Regions from separate parts of the Homo sapiens genome. Here all the other regions are linked to region 1. Evidence: promoter capture Hi-C in 16 types of primary human blood cells and fetal thymus (Javierre and others, 2016). All regions are on one chromosome and are shown on one strand. The core of a region is centred on a gene start or on the middle of the fragment in contact, and the rest is flanking DNA. Distances in the headings are between cores, read along the strand shown.

Region 1 (2,604 bases), core at 36-2,535:
TAGTGCCAAGTATTGGCAGGTGAGGGCAAAAGGACTCCCCTTTCCTGAGCTGCAGGGAGGGGTCGGGTCAGGTGCTGTGCTTCCTCCTTTGGTGCCTAGCGGCAGGGAGACTAAAGTGAAGCATGTCCGTGCCTGGGACAGAAAGGAAGGCTGGAGCCAGGATGTAAGAGAACCAAGTCTCTGGGGGTGGGATGGAGGCTATGGGGAGGGCATCCTGTGCAGGGGAGGAGACCAGCCAGGACCTTGGGGTTAGGGAGGAGAAGACCAGCCCAGCCCGGCTGGGCCCGGCCCTGCCTGGGGGAGGCTGCCTCTGCTCACACATGCAGGCCGAAAGGAGCAACAGCTGGGCTCCATGCCGCCACCCCCTCCGCGCACTCCTGCCTATGCAACAAGTGTCACGTCTGCATGTTGGCACATCATCCCCGGTTTCCCGCGCCCCTGGACTGGCGGGAGGCTCCCAGCCTTCAGGGACCAGAAGACGTTCAACATGGGAGCCCAGCCCACTCGACTCTGGTCAGTTCCTTCCATCGATCCACGAGGGAGCGGGCATGTCCCCCGCCTCCACCTCTACCACGCGGGGTGCAGGGCGTGGGACACGCGGCGCACACCTGTGGTCCTGAGCTCCTGGGACTGCGAGCGACGGTTAGGAGGGACAAGGTGACGGGCAGGTGATGCCAAAGGCCGAGTTGAGCCCCGCAAAAGAAGCAGTCCTTGTGGCCAGCCGCCCCATGGCTCGGGGCGCTCTGTCAATCTGCTGCCTGGCGCTGGCCGGCGCGTGGCTGCTACTGCACGGCTCGCGCCGGGCTCCCCGGGAGGCGGGGAGAGTGCGAATAGGGCGGAGGGAAAGGAGCACGCCGGCTGCAGCCCGGGCGAGCGGGAGGGCGCGCACTCACCTCCACACACCGCGGTCAAGGAGAGCCAGAGCAGCAGGAGCGCCTGCACGCAGAGCCGCAGATTCATGCTGCTCCTTGGGCCGCCGCGGCCCCGGCGAGCCGGCGCGGGGGAGGAGAGGTCGGGCGCCCGGAGGCCAAGAAAGGCGCGAGCCGCGGCTGGCGCGTGCGGGCGCAGAGCTCGGGAGGCTCCCCGGCCGCTGAGTGTGCGCGCTGAGCCCCGCCGCTCCCGCTGGCCGCCTCCGCTCTTCTGCAGCCTCCTCTCCCGCCGCGGGGCAGCGCCGCGAAGCTGGCCTCGGCGGCTCCGGGAGCGGCAGCGGCGAGCTCTTTCTTAGCGGCTGGCTGCTCGGCCGCGGCTGCAACTGCCCGTGACCCCGGCTGCCAGAGAGAATGCTCCCCGCTCACTCCAGGGGCTGCATTTTGTAGCTTGTGGCTTGGCCGCGAGCCCACTTGGTCATGTGGTCATCGGGAGGGCTAGAGGGGGGGCAGGAAGAGGGAGAGGGAGCGAGCCTCCCGCACCGCCCCCCTCCAGGCACGCACTCTGCAGCCCCAGCCCGAGCGTGAGCGCGAGAGGGAACCCCGAGGTGGCCCCACAACAAAGGCTGCGCGGCCTCTCTGACAACCTACAACCGCTCCCCGGACAATGCCCGCCTGGCCGGGGGCCAGAGGGTTTGCAGAGACCTGAAGGATTTCAAACACAGGAAGCATTTGGGGCGGTGGAGGGGCACACTTAACCCTTTCTCACCTTGCTTCCTTAACAGCTGTCAGGAAACCTGGGCGCTTAGGGAAGGACTCAGTCTGGGTTGCCTTCACTCACGCCCTCTACCTCTGACCCTGGTCCTTGCCCTTGCCGCTGGCCAGCTTCAAGGGTTTGGTCAAGACAACCAAACACTGGCCCTCCTCTCTCCTCTGCATTTTCAACTGGCTTTGAATTGGGGGTGACTGCCTAGGCTTGTGCCCAAGGCTTGATTAATTGCCCAGGCCCCTCATGTTCCCTGCATCCCCCAGGAGGCACCCTCTACCTGGAATGCCCCCACCCCACCCTTCCGTGAGCAATTCATTCTTTGCAGCAGCACCTCAAATCCCATCGCATCCAGAAGCCTTCTCAGGATAACACTAATCCAGCAGGGGCCGCCCATCAGCTCCTCCCCACTGTTGGGACATGGGACAGCTCCTATGGTCTACCCTTTCTTGTTCCCTGGAGCTGTCCTCATTCTAGTTCCCCATCAACGTAAGAGGCAGGTGGTTTACCCAACTCCACACAGTCAAGGCTGGATTCATTTTGCGTGTACTTGCGATTCCGCTTTAGAAGCGGGTCCTGAAGTTGTTTGCCTTTCCAGACTCGATTGTTAGCTGCTTCTATAGCTTGGGAGCTCCCAAGGCATGGGGCTGCTTCCCTCATTGGACTGGGAACCCCCTAAGGTAGGATACTGTCTTCTCACTCTTCTGGATCTCTCCAAAGTCCCCAATATCTTGCTCTGCACATAGGTGGCACTCAACACATATTAAAAGACTGAATCGAAAGGTGTCTCCACCTTTCAGCAAGCCAGGCAGTTTGCTTGAAGTGTTAAGTCCAGATTTACACAAAAGATACATTGGACAGGGTGCGTGTGTGCCATAAAAGACATGAGAGACCATGGCATATTTAAAATATCTTTGAAATGTTGCAAAAATCCTATATATACACAATGTATTTATTATCAGTCTCTCTCCA
Region 2 (2,604 bases), core at 40-2,539, 400 kb after region 1:
CAGTCTTGCAACAGTTGACCGGGAAAACAGCCCCTCCTCTTCTTTCTCCTTCCGAGTTCGCCCTTCCCCCACCTCCTTGTCTTTCCCCGACCGAGCACCAGACTGCAGAATGAGGCAATAATACGGACCAACAAGAAGCCGCCTTATCAATGCCAGCATTAGCGACTGGACTGTTTTTGTTTTTTTGGTTACAATTAGTTCTCATCTCCCTGTCGTCGTCATTGTTATCGTGGTTGCTGATGGGGGTGGAAAGTTGAACTCCATGTCTGAGGACAAGAGGTCCCGGGGGTGGTGGGAGGTGGCGCCGGGGTCCCTTGGACTGGCCTCCTTGTTCATGACCAAGACCAAACCTGGGCCCTGGATGGCCTTGGCCTGTCCCGAGGAGAAATGAGAAAATCCCAGATCTCTGAGCGCCCCCCAACTCCATTCCCCTGTGTTCTTCTGTCTTCTGTAGTATTTATTTTATTAGTATTTAATTTGTATTGTTTCATTGGTTTCTGATAAGTCTGTATCACTGTGACGATTTGAGACAACTTGTTGTATTGAGGGACTTTCTGTACCTCCTTTTCTTTTTCTTTGTTGATGAGCTCTGACAAAGCTATTCCCTGGTGTTTTTTTCCCCCACTGGGGAGGGGGTGAGGTGGAATGGGGTGGGGGAACATGGACTTGTGACTAACGAAGCTGGTTGCTGCTGGCCCAGGGCTGGGGGCTTGGGGGTAAATCCTGAGGCTTTGGTGCTCCCCCACCCACCCATTCCCGCCCTTTGCAGCAGCCCCGCTATCTTGAGATTAGTGTTGACAGGGAGGGGAGGATTGTGAGGTGAGGGGTTAATAAGTTACTCTAATAAAGGAGCGTGGAGAAGGGATCTGAGGGGTGAGGGTGGCCCCCCTCCTCACGCCTTCTTCACTGCCCCCCTCAGAGTGCACAATACGAGTTTGTTCCTGCCTCCACTCTCCCACCCCGTTCTGGCCTCCCTGTCTCAAGATACTGAGCCTCTCACCTCCCAGCCCTCAGCCACCCCCATCCCTGCCCCTTCTGAGACTCACAGCACCCCTTTCCTTCCTCTCCTCCCACCTCCTCCCTCAGCCCCTCATTCTCCTTGGGAATCTGCAGAGGGCTCTGGGACTCACTGCCGGATGTGAAATCCAGGCGTCAGCTGTTTCCTAGGCAAGGGCAGGAAAGTGGTCTCCAGCCCTTGCTCCACTCATGCCTGGGGGCCTGGGGCTGAGTGGTATCCCTACCTGGCCTCCCCCTGGCCTCTGGGCCTCCAGCGCTGGGTTTGTCGAGTGAGAGAGAGAGAGGAGCTTGGGTTGCTTCCCTGTCCCCGCCCCCTCTGTGGCATTGTCCCTCCCACTCTTATTTTTCTACCAATTGCTATTTTTCCGAACAATCCTTGTAGAGTATGTACCATCCAAAGGCAGGAGGGCCTCGCCGTGGCCGGCTCTGGTTGGAGATGGTACAGTTTTATTGTACAGGTGCTAAAACAACAACAACAAAAAAGAAAATGGAAAAAAAAAAGATTAAAAAAAAAAGGAAAAAAAAAAAGCCAGTTTGAGGATGGGACAATCTGTTCTCTAGAGGCTCCTGAGCCATGCGGGAGCATTGGTGGTTATTTTCTTTGTATTGTGTTTGTTCTTTGTTCCTGGGGGGGAAGTTCTCGGCCCCCTTCTGTAGGACTGCTCCCCACCCCCACCATACTGCCCAGTTGGTTTTGAACAGTTGTTTTCCCTTTTTAAGAAAAAAAAATACATATATATATACATATATATATATAAAGTTGAGGGGTTTTGGACTTTAATTTGTTGGTTTTGTTGGGGTTCCTGGTATTGTGTAGTTTATTTCATGTTCTGTTTGCCTTTCCTTTTTTCGCATTTGGGTGTATATTCTGGCTGCCCTTTATGTTTCATTTTAAGCAACTGGCTGTGGAGTCAAAAACACTTGCATACTGAAAAACCTGTGTCAGGGCTTCTGTCTCCCGTCTCTCTTTTTCTCTCCCGTCTCTCTTTTTCTCTCCTCCCCTTTGGGACTTTTTGGTGGTTTCAGAAGGTGGGCATTGTGATTCAGTAAATGGGGAGCCCCCGCCATCCTGCTTTGCAGCTGTGGGTCCCAAGGGGTACGATGAATAAAGGCAAGGTGGAGTGGCTAGTGAACATTGGGTCACGATCTGGAAAGAAAAAGAAAGGGGCAAATCCTGGGGGCGGGGCCAGTGGGGGCAAATGGAGCATCTGGCTCCTGTTGCTTTGGTTTGGGGTTGAAGCAGGTGCCTGGGCAGTCCTTGTTTACATAGGAGTAGCAGGGTTGGAGGAAGTAGCCTTCTCTGTGGTGGCTGTGGGAATAAGCCTCCTTAAGGAAGTCCCCTGCTTGCCCTAGGCCACCCTGCCGAGGTGGCATCTGGCTGCATGGCCTCATCACTGCCCTCACTGTTGTGCCAGTGCTCCCCACCCACGGTGCAGGCCTTCCATGGTTCTGTTTTCCTGCCACCGAGCTACCATGAAGGCAAGATGCCCATCCTGGATTTTGCAGTTTTTCCTCCCACTTCTGAAAAACAGTGGTAGAAGCTATGATTCTTGTGATTGCTGGTTCCAGAATGCACCAGTGACTGAG
Region 3 (2,604 bases), core at 79-2,578, 380 kb after region 1:
GGTAAAGGAGCTTGACAGTTTCTATATACAGCCAGCAGCACCCCTGACACAGGCTGCACACACAGCCGCTCTAGCCAGCTAGCCTGTGAGCTGTCAGACAGAAAGGTGGAGTGGCCCATCTCCCCAGTGCCCCAGAGAGGACTGGCAATGGTGCAGCTATGGGATCCATTGTTTGGAAAGCCAGGCAGCCATTAATGCTGCCAGCCTCTCCCCTCCTCACCTCATTCACCCAGCTTCAGCCCATGCTAGCTAGGGTGCTTCAAGTCCCTGGTGTCCCACCTGTAGTCCTAGCATCATCTCAATCCAAGGAAGGCAGTCATTAAAGTGTGGATGAATGGCAGTATTGGATTATCCTTTTTTTTTTTTTTTGGAGATGGAGTCTTGCTCTGTCACCTAGGCTGGAGTGCAACGGTGCAATCTCGGCTCACTGCAGCCTCCACCTCCTGGGTTCAAGGGATTCTCCTGCCTCAGCCTCCTGAGTGGCTGGGATTACAGGCACCTGCCATCACACTGGGCTAATTTTTGTATTTTTAGTAGAGAGGGGGTTTTGCCATGTTGGCTAGGCTGGTCTCAAACTCCTGACCTCAGGTGATCTGCCCGCCTCAGCCTCCCAAAGTGCTGGGATTACAGGCGTGAGCCACTGCACCCAGCCTATTGGATTATCCTGATTTGAGGGGAGGGCTAGAACTGACTGTCCTGGCTTGAACATTGGTCCTGCCGAGACGTGCATCCAGGGATAGTCCTTAAAACAATTGTCTTCCTTATTCTTGAATTGCCACCAGAGGCTGTGCTCTCCACCACATCTCATTTCTCTGGTCTGGGGCTGGCTTGCCAAGCTCAGGGAGTCGAGGTCTGAGTGCTTGAGCTCTGGGCGGGCAGGTCAGCCTCTCTGAGGACCTCACCTCAAATACCACCACCCAGATGAGTGTCCTTGGCCATAAAAAAAGTCTCTCCAGGCCAGGTGCGGTGGCTCACGCCTGTAACCCTAACACTTTGGGAAGCCAAGGTGGGCAGATCACCTGAGTTCAGGAGCTGGAGACCAGCCTGGCCAACATAGTGAAATCTCATCTCTATTAAAAATACGAAAATTAGCCAGGCGTGGTGGCGTGCGCCTGTAGCTCCAGCTACTTGGGAGGCTAAGGCAGGAGAATCGCTTGAACCTGGGAGGCAGAGGCTGCAGTGAGCTGAGATTGCGCCACTGCACTCCAGCCTGGGCAACAGAGTGAGACTGTCTCAAAAAAAAAAGTCTCTCCACTGCCAAGGAAACGGCCCAGAGCTGGGGTCCTGGCAATTGTGGCTCAGGACTGATGTTGTTAATGAAAGATTTTGAAGTGTGTCCCTGCTATAAAGGGCAGGCTCTGAGACTCCTCAGATATTTGGGGAGCTTTGAGTCTCAGGGTTATATAAGTTCAAGAATTAGACCTCTCTTTGCTCATGGAGTTGTCCCTGTCCCCACAGGATGTTGTTCTCTACTGCCTCCAGAAAGACAGTGAAGATGTGAATCACCGTGACAATGCTGGCTACACAGCCCTGCATGAGGCTTGTTCCCGGGGCTGGACCGACATCCTGAACATCCTGCTGGAGCACGGGGCCAACGTGAACTGCAGTGCGCAGGACGGCACGAGGCAAGAGGGCTGCATCTCCCCCCAGTCCCGCCCTCACTCCCAGCTCAGCCTCTCACTCAAAAGACCTTGCCTGCCGCTGGCAGGCATGGTGGCTCACGCCTGTAATCCCAGCACTTTGGGAGGCCAAGGCGGGCGGATCATGAGGTCAGGAGTTCGAGACCAGCCTGGCCAACATAGTGAAACCCCATCTTTACTAAAAATACAAAAATTAGCCGGGTGTGGTGGCATGTGCCTGTAGTCCCAGCTACTAAGGAGGCTGAGGCAGGAGAATTGCTTGAACCCAGGAGGTGGAGGTTGCAGTGAGCCGCGACCATGCCATTGCACTCCAGCCTGGGTGATGGAGACTCCGTCTCAAAAAAACATAAAAAATAAAAAAATAAAGACCTTACCTCAACCTGAACCTTCGTAGCACACCAGACTGCGAGTTGCAGAGAGGCCTTGACAGGAGGAGTTTTGGAAAGACTTCTATAGGCTCAAGAGGGAACCAGTTTAGGGCAGGAGCCAATGAGTTAGTTCCCAGATGGCCAGGCCGCATCAGTTACTAAGGGGAGGCTGTGGTTGTCTAGGGATCATCCCATCATGTGTAGCTGTCACCAGGAAGACCACTCGGTCTTCCCTCAACTCATCCTGGTGGGGGACGTGTCTCAGACAGAATAGAAACTGAGAGGTTGACCTGAGGGTAATATCCAGATTTGATTTTTAAAATTTGATCTCTAGACACTGTAAGAAAAATACACCTGCTGTGTCTTAGAGAAATTGTACCCATTCTCCTCTGTTCTACCAGAGAGCCTACTTCCTGGGCAAATTAGAGACAGGAGCTGCAGATCCAGGAGGGGGCTCCGCTTGGGTTCTGCCTGGCGTGTGGAGCCCTTCTGCTCATCTCTGCTCTCAGGGAGTCACCCAGGGCCTTCAGTTCCCTGAACTGAAGTATCCCTCTACAGTTGCCCCCACCTTTTTTTTTTTTTTGAGATGGAGTCTC
Region 4 (2,604 bases), core at 49-2,548, 360 kb after region 1:
GCAAACAGAAGGGACTTCCGTTACCTTCTCTCCTCTTAAGTCACCGCCACAGCTGGAACGAGAGATGGCCTCTCCACCTGAGTGCAGCGAGATGCCCCTTGATCTGTCCTCCAAGTCCAACCGCCAGAAGCTTCCATTGCCGAACCAGCGCAAGACACCCCCCATGCCTGTGTTGACCCCCGTGCACACCAGCAGCAAGGCCCTCCTCTCCACAGTCCTGTCTAGGTCTCAGCGCACAACCCAGGCTGCCGGTGGCAATGTCACCTCCTGCCTGGGCTCCACTTCCTCGCCCTTTGTCATCTTTCCCGAGATCGTGAGGAATGGGGACCCGAGCACCTGGGTGAAGAACTCAACTGCACTGATCAGCACCATTCCTGGCACCTACGTGGGAGTGGCCAACCCAGTGCCTGCATCCCTGCTGCTGAACAAAGACCCCAACCTGGGCCTCAACCGTGACCCCCGCCATCTCCCCAAGCAGGAGCCCATCTCCATCATTGATCAAGGAGAGCCTAAGGGCACTGGTGCCACGTGTGGCAAAAAGGGCAGCCAGGCTGGTGCTGAGGGACAGCCAAGCACAGTGAAACGATATACTCCAGCCCGCATTGCCCCTGGGCTGCCAGGGTGCCAAACCAAGGAACTCTCTTTGTGGAAACCCACGGGGCCGGCAAATATTTATCCCCGGTGTTCAGTCAATGGGAAACCTACCAGCACCCAGGTCCTGCCTGTTGGCTGGTCCCCGTACCACCAGGCGTCTCTGCTTTCCATTGGCATTTCCAGTGCCGGGCAGCTGACCCCCAGTCAGGGGGCGCCCATCAGGCCCACCAGCGTTGTTTCGGAGTTTTCTGGTGTGCCATCTCTCAGCTCCAGCGAAGCCGTGCACGGACTTCCTGAGGGGCAACCACGGCCTGGGGGCTCCTTCGTTCCAGAGCAGGACCCTGTTACAAAGAACAAAACTTGCCGGATTGCTGCCAAGCCTTATGAAGAACAAGTCAATCCTGTCCTCTTGACCCTCAGCCCTCAGACTGGGACCCTGGCACTGTCTGTTCAGCCTAGCGGTGGGGACATTCGAATGAATCAGGGGCCTGAGGAATCAGAGAGCCACCTCTGCTCTGACAGCACTCCTAAGATGGAAGGCCCCCAGGGGGCTTGTGGCCTGAAGCTGGCAGGAGACACGAAGCCTAAGAACCAAGTGCTGGCCACCTACATGTCCCATGAGCTGGTCCTGGCCACCCCCCAGAACCTGCCTAAGATGCCTGAGCTGCCTTTGCTACCTCACGACAGCCACCCCAAGGAACTTATATTGGACGTGGTTCCGAGCAGCAGGAGGGGCTCCAGCACAGAGCGCCCACAGCTTGGAAGCCAGGTGGATCTGGGGCGAGTGAAAATGGAGAAGGTGGATGGTGATGTGGTCTTCAATTTAGCCACCTGCTTCCGGGCTGATGGCCTCCCAGTGGCTCCCCAGAGGGGCCAAGCTGAAGTTCGGGCTAAGGCCGGGCAGGCTCGAGTGAAACAGGAAAGCGTAGGGGTCTTTGCTTGCAAGAACAAGTGGCAGCCAGATGATGTGACGGAATCTCTGCCGCCCAAGAAGATGAAGTGCGGCAAAGAGAAGGACAGTGAAGAGCAGCAGCTCCAGCCACAAGCCAAGGCCGTGGTCCGGAGTTCCCACAGACCCAAGGTGAGTGCTGAGCTAAGGTCCAGGGTGGGGCCGAGATGCCGCTGGTCTACTTCGTGCCATGGATAGCAACCTCCTGTGACCCCTACCCTGTGACACAGTGCTGTTGGGCAGCTGTGTGAACTGAACGGATTGGAAGGCTTTTGTAAAAGTAATAATGACCTGCTGTCCCCTCCCTAGGTCACATTTTCCATATACGGTGTCTCAGCATGGGGAGAGGCTGGCTTGTAGTTTGTAGGATGTGGGAAATGATTCTGTCCCTGGGGTAGGGAAGCCATTGTCCCAGATGAGATCGGAAAGCGGAAGAAGGTATTGGTGAGGGAAATCAATGAATAACAGGCTCTTCCTTGAATAACCATTCTTCCTTTTCCTTTACTGAGAGAACACTGGCCTTGAGAACTTAGGGATGGGGAGAGCAGGGGCCTCTGACGGGGTTGTTCCTTTCACCACTGGTTGGGGGGCCTGCTTAGGATTTGCTGGGAGCCTTGTGGGGTCAGAGCCAATTTGGCTTCTGTGCTAATCAGTTTCCTACCCGCTCGAATGCTTGAGGCAGCAGCTTTGGGTTTTGGCCCACTGGGGATTGGATGGGCAAGGCAGGTTGGGTGTCTGGGTGTTGGTCTTGACAGGCTATGGATGGTGGCAGAGTTCTAGGCAAAAAGGTGGGCCAGGAGCACTTGATGAGAATCCCCTGGTCCCCCAGAAGGGACCAGAGGCTACTGGTGATCCAAGGAGAATCTTGAAACATTTGAGGATAGGGTTTATTAAAAATCTAGAACAACTTGAAGTTCTGTTAGCAAGCTTTCAAGTTGGATGTTCATGTACACTAAGGGACAAAATTTCTGGCTAGAGCACTGTGAATTTGGCTGTGGCACAAGTTTATGGTCTTTTTTGGACCATAGACCATTTTGAAAAGCTGGTGAGAGCTATGGACC
Region 5 (2,604 bases), core at 48-2,547, 270 kb after region 1:
GTCTCGCTCTGTCACCTAGGCTGGAGTGCAGTGGCACAATCTCGGCTCACTGCAACCTCTGCCTCCCTGGTTCAAGTGATTCTCCTGCCTCAGCCTCCTGAGTAGCTGGACTACAGGCACATGCCACCATGCCCAGCTAATTTTTTGTATTTTTAGTAGAGATGGGGTTTCACCGTGTTAGCCAGGATGGTCTCGATCTCCTGACCTCATGATCTGCCCGCCTCGGCCTCCCAAAGTGCTGGGATTACAGGTGTGAGCCACCGCACCTGGCCACATGCTACTTTTAATTACCAAACTCCGTTGCCTGCTATGATTAGTGTACTGTCTAGGAGATTCAATGTACAGAATCTTCTTTTCCCCGTTTGTCCTTTTTATAATGTCTTATGTGGTACCTAGCACTTGGTGGGTGCTCAACAAATGCTTACCGACCAGACAACGTACAAACCTCATTTTCTGACAGTTTTCATTCTTTTTTCCCCCAGATTCTGGCAGCCAGGAGGTGCTGTCTGAATTGAGAGTACTATCTCAGAAATTGAAGGAAAACCATCAGTCCAGGAAGCAAAAAGCAAGTTCAGAGGGGACTATTCCCCAGGTCCAGAGAGAGGAACCTGCCCCAGAAGAAGAGGAGCCCCTGTTGCTACAGAGACCAGAGAGAGTACAGACGCTGGAAGAGCTAGAAGAGCTGGGAAAAGAAGAATGTTTTCAAAATAAGGAGCTTCCCAGACCTGTGTTAGAAGGGCAGCAGTCAGAGAGGACCCCAAATAATCGCCCTGATGCCCCTAAGGAGAAGAAAAAGAAGGAGCAAATGATCGACCTACAGAACCTCCTAACCACACAATCTCCCTCCGTGAAGTCTTTGGCAGTTCCCACAATAGAGGAGCTGGTGAGCAGAGCCAGGGTGGTGGGCCATTGTTCAGAAAGTGTCGTTCTTGCGCAAGGAGTAATGAAGCTTTGTTTTGCTGGGGGCACATTTCAGTAGTTTAGAGGTCCAGAATAGTATAGGGCCAGGCTAGTCCCAGTGACGTTTTAATAGATGCAGATATATGGGTGCTGCCAAGACCCCTATTTCCGAAAGCCTGATCCACAAAAACTCCTCTGGGGTGACTCTAAAACTGCTCTCAGAGGTAAGAGGGAGTAACTCAGAGTTCTGACCAGATCCCAGGCAGGACAACTTGAAGGTGAGTCATTGAACTGTTGCGAAAGTTTTATTCAGTGGGATCTCAGATGGTCTAAGACTCCCCAGTTAATCTGAAACTTAAAGTGAAGCGTCCTGGCACCTGTCTTTTCAGGGATATAAGCTGGAGGAAGCCTACAGTCTGGCCACTTAGAGCTCCTGCTGCTAACACGGGCCATTCCTTCCTCCACCCTGCAGCTTCCTTACTGAAAAGTTTAAAATTGTGTCATATGATAATGAGCTAGGGATATTTACCCTAGAGGGAAGAAAATTTGAGCATGATTGGCTGTGCACTGGTTTGTATCGCAAGACCATCATTGTTCAGCACTTCCCCCTAGGGGGCGCTAAAATGTCACGACCCGAAATTCAAGCGTTCTCGCCATGAACCACAGCTCATAAGCCAAGCTGTAGCTCTCGCTTGTTTCTTCCCAGGAAGATGAAGAGGAGAGAAACCATAGGCAGATGATAAAGGAAGCTTTTGCTGGGGATGATGTCATCAGAGATTTCTTGAAAGAGAAGAGGGAAGCTGTGGAGGCGAGTAAGCCAAAGGACGTGGACCTGACACTACCTGGCTGGGGCGAGTGGGGTGGTGTGGGCCTAAAGCCCAGTGCCAAGAAAAGACGCCGGTAAGAATGCCGAAGAAAGTCTGTCAAAAGGGCACCGGGTTCTCCCCTCGCCCTTCGGTGTCCTCCCTACCCTTTTGACTAAGTCCTTAATGCTCCTAGTCAGATGTCCTGTTGTTTTGCTTTCCAGGTTTCTCATTAAAGCCCCTGAGGGTCCTCCAAGAAAAGATAAGAATTTGCCAAATGTGATTATCAATGAGAAGCGCAACATCCACGCAGCTGCTCATCAGGTGAGAGCTTAGAGAGCTCTTTAGCTGCCTGCTTGTTACTGCCTGGCTCTCTTGCTTGAGAGGAGTATTCTAGTGATCTGTAGTCAAGAGAGACGTGTGATCTTGACCGCAGAATCAAATCTGTTGTTTTCACTGAATGGCTGTTAGATTTATCATTTCAGATAGACTACGCTGTTTTAATTACTGGCCAGGAAAAAAGTTTAGAGTCAAGGTAATGCTCAAACAGAGGCTATAAGGTTTAAGCTGTAGCTTAAGAAAAATGAAGACAAACCGGTACTTGTTCAGGAGAATGAGAAGATTGTAAGTTGTGTCACATGATAATGAGCTAGGGATGTTTACAAGAGAAGAAAATTTGAGCGTGATTACGGTGTTCAAGTATATCGAAGGTTATTGTATGAAGTCACATAAAGTAGAAGTTAGAGGACATACAGAATTCAAGGCTGCTCTGGGAGTATGAGAATGTGTAAAGGGGACTCAAGAACGAGATTGGACTAGATGACCTTTATGTTCCCTTCAATTCTGAGATCTGTCCCCAGCCAGTATATTGAAATGAGTTACATTTTTCCCTCGGAAGGAA

The links. Contacts are between HindIII fragments. The CHiCAGO score rates a contact against its expected background, and 5 or more counts as called.
Region 2: a fragment that was not itself captured here is called in contact with the fragment with the promoter of APLN in region 1 in 6 of 17 cell types (activated CD4 T cells, non-activated CD4 T cells, total CD8 T cells and 3 more); the score reaches 10.3 in activated CD4 T cells.
Region 3: a fragment that was not itself captured here is called in contact with the fragment with the promoter of APLN in region 1 in 11 of 17 cell types (non-activated CD4 T cells, naive CD8 T cells, naive CD4 T cells and 8 more); the score reaches 11.0 in non-activated CD4 T cells.
Region 4: a contact is called between a fragment that was not itself captured here and the fragment with the promoter of APLN in region 1, in 5 of 17 cell types (non-activated CD4 T cells, total B cells, activated CD4 T cells and 2 more). The highest score is 7.9, in non-activated CD4 T cells.
Region 5: a contact is called between a fragment that was not itself captured here and the fragment with the promoter of APLN in region 1, in 10 of 17 cell types (total B cells, activated CD4 T cells, naive B cells and 7 more). The highest score is 12.6, in total B cells.

The regions. Positions count from the first base shown.
Region 1 is chrX:129,653,671-129,656,274 of GRCh38, forward strand. It overlaps APLN (apelin), which reads right to left and starts at 1,286. Exons shown (of 3, transcript NM_017413.5): 1 at 894-1,286. The coding sequence starts at 960. RefSeq lists enhancers at 558-617, 2,310-2,399, 2,410-2,469 and silencers at 908-957, 1,048-1,127. The HindIII fragment of the contact is 20,761 bases long and covers 1-2,604 here.
Region 2 is chrX:130,056,119-130,058,722 of GRCh38, forward strand. BCORL1 (BCL6 corepressor like 1) reads left to right here. Exons shown (of 14, transcript NM_001379451.1): 14 at 1-1,953. The coding sequence ends at 18. Among named protein-coding and RNA genes, the nearest start is that of ELF4, 53 kb to the right of the region's middle. The HindIII fragment of the contact is 3,020 bases long and covers 1-2,604 here.
Region 3 is chrX:130,035,909-130,038,512 of GRCh38, forward strand. It overlaps BCORL1 (BCL6 corepressor like 1), which reads left to right. Exons shown (of 14, transcript NM_001379451.1): 10 at 1,459-1,625. Among named protein-coding and RNA genes, the nearest start is that of BCORL1, 55 kb to the left of the region's middle. The HindIII fragment of the contact is 5,010 bases long and covers 1-2,604 here.
Region 4 is chrX:130,014,539-130,017,142 of GRCh38, forward strand. It overlaps BCORL1 (BCL6 corepressor like 1), which reads left to right. Exons shown (of 14, transcript NM_001379451.1): 4 at 1-1,675. Among named protein-coding and RNA genes, the nearest start is that of BCORL1, 33 kb to the left of the region's middle. The HindIII fragment of the contact is 2,340 bases long and covers 129-2,468 here.
Region 5 is chrX:129,924,313-129,926,916 of GRCh38, forward strand. UTP14A (UTP14A small subunit processome component) reads left to right here. Exons shown (of 15, transcript NM_006649.4): 12 at 483-883; 13 at 1,607-1,800; 14 at 1,928-2,027. The region is part of intron 2 of LOC105373335 (a long non-coding RNA gene); the gene reads right to left. Among named protein-coding and RNA genes, the nearest start is that of UTP14A, 19 kb to the left of the region's middle. RefSeq lists a silencer at 1,422-1,471. The HindIII fragment of the contact is 700 bases long and covers 948-1,647 here.